2 separate regions of the Homo sapiens genome follow, and region 1 is linked to region 2. Evidence: promoter capture Hi-C in 16 types of primary human blood cells and fetal thymus (Javierre and others, 2016). All regions are on one chromosome and are shown on one strand. Each heading gives the region's core, a stretch centred on a gene start or on the middle of the fragment in contact. The rest is flanking DNA. Distances are from core to core; before and after follow the strand shown.

The links. Contacts are between HindIII fragments. The CHiCAGO score rates a contact against its expected background, and 5 or more counts as called.
Region 1: a contact is called between a fragment that was not itself captured here and the fragment with the promoter of BRD8 in region 2, in 1 of 17 cell types (naive CD4 T cells). The highest score is 5.3, in naive CD4 T cells.

Annotation. Positions count from the first base shown.
Region 1 is chr5:137,657,141-137,661,515 of GRCh38, reverse strand. KLHL3 (kelch like family member 3) reads left to right here. Exons shown (of 15, transcript NM_017415.3): 8 at 3,236-3,385. Among named protein-coding and RNA genes, the nearest start is that of MIR874, 12 kb to the right of the region's middle. The HindIII fragment of the contact is 651 bases long and covers 1,253-1,903 here.
Region 2 is chr5:138,175,828-138,179,879 of GRCh38, reverse strand. It overlaps BRD8 (bromodomain containing 8), which reads left to right and starts at 1,250. Exons shown (of 27, transcript NM_139199.2): 1 at 1,250-1,284; 2 at 2,213-2,309. The coding sequence starts at 1,266. KIF20A (kinesin family member 20A) reads right to left here and starts at 768. Exons shown (of 19, transcript NM_005733.3): 1 at 678-768; 2 at 35-220. The coding sequence starts at 199. RefSeq lists enhancers at 939-1,108, 1,249-1,298, 1,006-1,300. The HindIII fragment of the contact is 9,650 bases long and covers 1-4,052 here.

The sequences.
Region 1 (4,375 bases), core at 329-2,828, 520 kb after region 2:
GGACTGAAGCAAGAAGGGTCATGTCCACAATGTTTCTATGTTCCCTTTATGTCTTAGTTTTAGGCAACTTGAAGCCAAATTCAAGACTGTAAAAACGGTGCCTAGAATACAGAGTACTTCCACTTCCTCTGAAAAGGAAAGAAAAATTAAGAATTATGGGGTTTCCTTATGGTGCCATATGTTTTCTCGTTTAATCCTTATAATAACCCAGAGGGGCAAAGATTGTAACTCCTTTTTTTACACATGTAGGCCTTGAGGCTTATGGAGGTTGGGATTTATCGGGGTCACTAGCCTTAGAGAGGCTCAGGATTCAAATCCATGTCATTCTGGCTCTGCAGTGCATAGTTCTTCCGCTAAGCTAGCTGCCACCATTGATACGCTCTTTTCTGCATACCCATTACGTGACTTATTTTATACAGTAAATGGCATTAGACACTTTTATAAGCAGAGAATAAACCTTAAAATATATGAACAAAACAAAACATCGAGACAGCAGGTTAGCCCTCAGCTGTCTCCAAGGAGTCTCTGGAAGGAAGGGAAGATATGATGCAAGGATAAAGAGGAGGTTTAGCAGCCTAGCAGCCCAGCAGCCCAGCTCTTGTTACTTTCCAGCCATATAATACTGGGTACATGCTTAACCTTTTTAAACCTCAGTTTTCTTACCGGGAAAAAATGGCACTTGCCTTTATAGGATTGTTTGGGGATAAACAATAAAATGAGATAATCCATGTAGGCCTATAATACAGTGTTCAGTGAATGTTACTGATCTTACTCTGTAGTCTTTGTGACCACTGCTGTGATTCTTAGTAGCAGGTGACACAGTATCCTCACGAGCACTTGTAAACTCGTCTGCTGGTAACACTTGTAGATTGCAGATATGAGGGGTCAGTGAAATGTTCCCTGAATCGCCGTACTTCAGCCTTCTCAGGTGCTGAGGGATATGCTTGCAAGCTCTTAAATGGGGCATGCATGCTACTTTGGGTGATACCACTGCCACCTGGTGGCAGCATATCTTTCCTGTAGAAAAGGTCCCCTAAGCGGAGGAAGTGAACTTGCCTGAGCATCCAGTGTCAGTCAAACCTCCCACTGTCCTGTGGGAAGCTGGCTGGAGGTGGAGGAGGCACCTGGACTCCAGTATAGTCTCGCTTCCACAGGGAGGGTTGGCAACCTGGGGACCTGGGTTCCAGAGAAAGCTAAAGTGGCCTTAGAGACCGTTGGTCACAAACTTCATCAGGCATCCACAACTGAAGCTTAACAAACGTCACCATTAGGAAATGGCTCCTGGGTTATTATGCCAAAGCAGAATTTAGATCTGGAAAAGAAGGGGGTCAGAGGCAATGGGCATGAGAACTGTTGTGTGGGACTCCTCCCTTTGCCCTTTTTGCAGAAAGGCCTTTTATCAGGCCTCTCAGAGTGAACACCTCTGGAATAGGATGTTTCATTACATTCATTTGACTTTGAAACTTCAAATGAGTATAATTGCTGGGATGGCTGATGGTGGTGGAGGAGGAGGAGGAGAAGGAAGGGAAAGCCCTGGGCAGACCTCCACCAACACTGCCTGACTTCTGGGGGAGGTTTTTTTTTCTTTCACAAAAGGTAGCATTTATTAGGCTTTTACTCAGCATTTAAAAATATTGTACTAAATGTATAATATGTTGTGATAAAATGTTTATTACATAAACTTTGTTATTTTAACCATTTTAAGTGTACAATTTAGAGGCATTCATTACATTCAAATTCAGTACAACCATTACTATAAAGATTTCCAAAACTTTGTCATCACCCCCAAAGTTGAAACTCTTGTACCCATGAAGCACTAACTTTCCAGGAGAACTTTTAATTCAAGCTGAGTAAGTTCTTCTGGAGAAATAGCTGCTCATGCATTTCTCCTTCCTTCCAAGCTTTTTCAGGCATCCTCTCCCACCCTTTTTATTTTGTAATTGACCCTAGAAGTTTATGATTTGTCTCAAGCTGGCTCAGTTCCTTACTGGGAGGGGAAAAAAAAACCTTCCAAGGAAAACAGTTCTTGGGGACTGTCTCTGGGGAGGGAGGTGGTCAGAGGTACACAGAGGCCTTCTCTTGCCAATCCTTTTTTCCCTGCCAGCTCCAATGCTGCCCAGCAGATGATGGCCCTGGCCATGCTTTCATTCCTAGTGACAGATGGGGACCCAGGAGAGGCTCAGTCATGCCTTGTGCATCACTGACTTGAGGGCTGAGATAATTGAGGTGGGAGGCCCTTCTCATTCTCTGACTGGACTTGAATTCTTCAGGGTCAGAAATTTTGTCTTGTTCATCATTTTCTTCCTGGGGACCAGCACAGGGCTGCCCAACCAGGAGACATTCAATCAGTGTTAGCTGTTGAATGGAATTGATCTTTCCTAACACAAAGCAGCCCCAGAAGACCACATTACCCATTCCAGATATGCCACACAGTGATCTGACCTGGGCCAAAAGGTGGGGATTGGAGAGTTAGAGCACCAGAATGGCTTCATGCTTGGTCTTGCTCATGAAACCTTTAGGCTTACATGTGCTGAGCACCTGCTTAGGTCCTAAGCTCTGGAATAAGAGATAAAGAAGCCAGAGCCCCAGCTTAGATGGAGTCCTAGGTGAGGTCAATAGGTGGGACTTTGTGCAGGGTAATTTTTCTGCTCTGATGTTGTTACTCTGTTAGAAGGAGCCTCACTGGCCGATTTTCTGCCCTGAGACCTTCACTATAAGACAACGAATATGAATCTTTCTCCTTGACAAGCTTATTTTACTCAATGCCTCCAAAGGTTGGCTGATGGCTCCCACACCCTTTCCTCTTTCCCCTCACTCCTCCTCTCAGATGTCTGTTTGCCCTAAGCATTATAATGCATTCAAATCAGGAGAAATGTGGTTAGAGGCTTTCAGGATGGCTACTTGTCTTTTGTTTTGCATAAACTCATTTAAGCCTCAAAACAAACAAAACTAGTGAGGTTGTAGATACCTTTAATATGCCCATTTTACAGATGAGGAAACTGAGGATCAGAGACGTTAAGTAGTGGATCTGGTCTAATGCCAGAGCTTGATCCCTTATCCCACTGTGCTCTTAAAATGCAGGAGGTGAGCAGTAAGTTGTAACTCTTTGGGTCTGAGATGATGTGGTGAAGGAATGAATGAGTGTGGGAGTGCAGGAATGACTGAGCCCAGGGTGAAAGCTTGGGAAATGTGGCTGAGCTGTGCTCCAGGATCATCTGTGGATTATTACCTCTAGACGGTTGAAGAAGAAGCTTTGATAAAGAATAACAACACCTGTAAAGACTTCCTCATTGAGGCCATGAAATACCATCTCCTCCCTCTGGATCAGAGACTATTGATTAAGAACCCAAGGACCAAGCCCAGGACTCCAGTCAGCCTTCCCAAGGTAAGCCCCAGCCCAATCACCACCAAGAGTCAGGACTGTGCCCTGGGAAAGTGGCCTTCCACTCCTGCCTCCAAGTCTTTCCTCACCCATGGCTGCCCTGCATCTTGGTTGCATTTACAACCTAGGAGATGGAGTCTGCTGGTTCCTCTTGAATCTGCTGGTACCTCTCTCTTCTGGGGTCTTCCTTTCCTAAGAGTTTCAAGGTAACCTCCAATGTCATCAGGGAGGTTTGAGAATAACTCAGAGCTCCCTCTCACCCCCACCCTGACTTCTCATTTCACACCATGGCTTGTGCTCTATTTCTGTTGGAAGCAGAGGAATGGCTATGTTGGTTTCACTTAGTGATGGCCATAGTAGTCCTCTTTCTAGGCCATTCTTTGAGTCAGAATAGTCCTAGTCTGTTTCTTTTCCCCACTCAGGGAAGGACATAAAGGACAATTAGGGCTGCCCCAGAGAAGAAAAGGGGTTCTAAGAAAAGGGACCCTGTCAAATTGAGGAGTTTGACAGGTCACGAAGCAGAGGAAGGAAATGGGAGAAATGAGAATTTGTGAGGGAGCAGCCAGGGAAAGGGAAGGAAGACACAGGAGGGGACCCCATGATCTAGAGACCTAGAGTTTATGGTGTGTGCTGGCTGCTTTGGTTCCCTGCGAGTCTTCTTTCCTCTCTGACCCTCAGGCTCCTTATCTATAGAATGAGGGATGCTCCACTCGATCCCTAAAGTCCTGTCTGGTGTGGCACCAAAGTAGTCGTTTTAGGAGTCTAACATGCTGATGTCTGGGGGAAGGAATCAGTCAACCCAGGAGGAAAGGTGGGAGGAGAGGAGTGGGTCGTGTTGTCTCATTGATGACACAGTAGGCAGCACCAGGAAATTATTTAGGCCCTTGCTTTGTCCTCCTCCTCCTCTTTCCAGCTGGCTGCCATCCTCCCTGCCTGCTTCTTCCAGGAAGGTTTCACAGTGGCTAGAGGCATGTTGTTTTCCAAGACCAGGTG
Region 2 (4,052 bases), core at 1-2,500:
ACTTTCCGCCCCAGCCACTCCCCAGTTCCTTTACCTGCTGCTTGTCCTCTAGGGAGGTAGAGACGACAGAGCAGTCTGATAGCAGGTTCTTGCGTACCACAGACCCCAAATCTGCAGCTGTGGACTCAAACATGGGAGAAACTACGACATCGTCATCGGACAGCAAGCCCGCTGGCGGAGAAAGGATCCCTTGCGACATGACGGCAGGGGCAGCCTAGGTCTAAAAAGAGACCAAAAAGTGGGCAGGGAGAAGAACCTTTAGGGACAGAAGGGGCCGCGAATTTTAGGTAATAAGTCCCTTGCCCCAGGACACCGTGTCCCGCTTCCTACTTCTTTTCCCCTCCAATTATCGGCAAAGGGGAAGGGAATGAGAGAAGTTCACTTAATGAACAATTGAGAGAAGTTTGAGGCGGCATTTCTGAACGCGAACAGAAGTCCACAGACATCTGGCTCCAAAAGCAGAAGGCTACGCCTAAAGTAGGGCACCTCGCCCGCCGGTGCTGTGGAGGTGGTGTCAGGATCCCTCGGCTCCTTCTCTAACCTCACCCCAAGGACCACCGTGAGAACAGAGATGCAGCATTAAGAGAAAAACAGATGGCTGCAGCTCCGATTTCTTAAAGCCTATTCCGCGCGGGCAAGAGCTGGTAACCCGGGCTCCAGCACAGCCGCACACTCACCCGAAGACGTGCCACTTGCTCCTCCTGGGATACTGGCTTACTCACACCTAGTCGCCGAAGCTGGACTTTCGCAGCCGCAGAGCACAACTCCGCCCACGAGGTGCAGCTTTGTTACAGATACAATATTTTAAATTACGCGCTGCGTTCGTTCGGCCAATCAGATAGGGAAGCCTGCAGCTACCAATCCGCGTAAGGAAAGGGGGCGGGCCTGACTGGAATTCCAGTCGTTCGCTTCTGCTTGACCTCTGAGTTCTAATGTGGGTCCGGGTTACCAACTGTCGTGGATTCGCACTTATTTTGCCTGGGATTCTTCCAACTTAACCTTTTTCCTTGAACCTTAGACATTTCTTACCTAAGAGCCTAAAGGAAATCTTGAGGCTTCAGCAGCCAACTCCTGTCCTTCCTTAGCAACAATCTTAACAGGAGTGCACAGGGTAACTGGTTTAGGGTGCTTGCTTTGTCTTAAGGGGAAAAACGACATTTCCCAGGAGGCACCGCGAACCAACGCCGGTACACTATTTCCCAGAATTCCAGGGTTTCGGCCCTTCCAGACCGTCTCTCCTCAGGGTTGGAGACTTCGGGGCCAAGATGGCGACGGGAACGGGCAGTGAGTATCTGAGCAGGTTTTGCGTGAAAGGCCTTTGTAGATCCGAGGCTAGGCACCATATTTTTGTTACACGCTTAGGGAGTGGGAGAAGTGGGTTGCTTGAGAGCCCAGGGTTTTCAGAGACCTGCGCTCTACAGCATCGTGAAGACCAACGTTTGGGGGCCCAGAAATCTGGGGTCTTGTTTCTCAGGGAGAGAGCGGAGGTGTGAGAGAAGCAGCTTAGTGAATCCTAGTGTGTTAGGAACTCTGCGGGTTAACCGTAAAAGCACTCTAGAAACTTGGGCGTGCAGACGAAAAGATGTTATGAGCCAGACGGAGTAACCGGCACCTCAAAGAGCCATTCATTTTTTTGTCTGACGTTTGTGAGGCAGTGGAAGTGGGGTCTTTTAACCATGAGCTTTTCTTGCCACTCAGGAAATTGCATCTCGGGGATTTCAGCCATTTTTCTTTTTTTGGACTGAAAAGCTCTTTTACCCCCGACATTTGGAGTAGAGGATCTGAGAGAAGTAAACAAGTTTATGCTAAGAGGGAGGCGGGGTAGTAGGAGGGGCTGGCCGCTCGGGTTCCTGGGAAATAAGCCCTGAATAAGTTCAAACTGGAATAAAGTCCAGTATTCTTAAAACTGGGCTTTTAGGGAGAACTGCCTAATCTGACATTCCCTGTTTCTTAATAAAGCGGAGCTTCAAGCCATGGCGTTTTAAGAAATAAAATGTTAATAATTCACATGCAACGAATAGGTACCCCGGTCACTGGTGATATTTCACTTGGAGAGGTGAAAATCAAGATTTGGTTATAGTAGCTCACTTTGTCCTAACAAGTTGGGATGTTTTGTATTAGGCTTTTAGTCCTCTTTTTGGGGATTTTGGAGCTTAGCACTACAGTCTCAGTGGTTGTTTCCAAGGCTTTTTTTTTTTTCTCCCTTTCCCAGAACACAAGCTGCTAAGCACTGGCCCCACAGAGCCATGGTCCATCCGAGAGAAGCTATGTTTAGCATCTTCTGTCATGAGAAGTGGCGATCAAAATTGGTAAGGTATCTAGGATGTCAGCTTTTCTGGGTCTTAGAAATTGTTAGATACTCTTTCACATCGGTAGATTTCTATAGTTAATCATATTAAGCTGTAAGTAGACTTTCTTTTCTTTTTCTTCTTTTTTTGAGACTGAGTCTCCTTCTGTTGCCCAGGCTGGAGTGCAGTGGTGCGGACACGCCCAGCTAATTTTTGTATTTTTTAGTAGAGACAGAGTTTCGCCATGTTGGCCAGGCTGGTCTCGAACTCCTGACCTCAGGTGATCCCCCCACCTCGGCCTGCCAGAGTGCTGGGATTACAGGTGTGAGCCACTGCGCCTGGCCATGCCTGGCTAATTTTGTATTTTTAGTAGAGACGGGGTTTCACCATGTTGGCCACGATGGTCTCAATCTCCTGACCTCATGATCTGTCCGCCTCGGCCTCCCAAAGTGCTGGGATTACAGGCGTGAGCCACTGCCAGGCCTATTTTTTTTTTTTTTTTTTTGAGACAAGATTGCACTCTGTGGCCCAGGCTGGAGGGCAGTGGTGTGATCTTGGCTCACTGCAACCTCCATATCTCAGGCTCAAATGATCCTCCACCTCAGCCTCTTGAGTAGCTGGGACTACAGGTGCACACCACCATGCCCAGCTAATTTTTTTTATTTTTTTGTAGAGATGGGGGTTTCATCATGTTTCCTAGGCTGGTCTCGAACTCCTGCGTTCGAGCGATCCGCCCAACCTACTGGGATTACAGGTGTGAGCCACCAGGCCAGCTGTATTTCTTTTTTTAAACAGCTTTATTGAGATATAATTCACATACTATAAAATTAACCTACTTAAAATGTACAATATAATGGTTTTTAGTATATTCACAGTTGTGCAACCATCACCACAATCTAATTTTAGAACATTTTATTCTAAGAAAAACCCCTTACTCCTTAACTGTCAGTCCATGTTGTCCCCTCCTCACCACCCCCAAGCAAGCACTCATCTACTTTCTATTAATTAATTAATTAATTTGAGACAGAGTCTCACTGTCACACAGGCTGGAGTGTAGTAGTTAGATCTTGGCTCACTGCAACCTCCGCCTCCCAGGTTCAAGCGATTATCGTGCCTTAGCCTCCCAAGTAGCTGGGATTACAGCCATGCGCCACGAGTGGCCTGGCTAATTTTTGTATTTTTAGTAGAGATGAGGTTTTGTCCAGGCTGGTCTTGAAGTAATGCACCAGTCCTGGCCTCCAAAAGTGCTGGGATTACAAGTGTGAGCCACCATACCCAGCCAACTCTCTTGTCTCTGTAGATTTGCCTATTCTGGATATTTCATACAAATGGAATGATACGTGCTCTTCTGGACTTTTTTTTGTTTTTTTTAATCACTTGACATAACACTTTTTAAGGTTCATTCTTATGTAGCATGTATCAATACTTAATTCCTTTTTTAGCTGAATAATAATCTGTTGTATGAATATACCAAGTTTTATTTATCCATCACTTGATAGACAATTGGGTTGTTTCCACTTTTTGGCCATTATGAATAATGCTGATGATGTGCACATTCGTGTACAAGGTTGTGGACAATGTTTTTAATTCTCTTGAGTTTTTTATTCAAGGAGTGAAATTGCTGGGTTATGTAGTAACTTTATTATGTTTGACTTTTTTTTTTTTTTTTTTTTTTTTTTGCAGACAGGGTCTCACTGTCACCCAGGCTGGAGTGCAGTAGTGCGATCGTGGTTCACTGCAACCTCTGCCTCCTGGGCTCAAGTG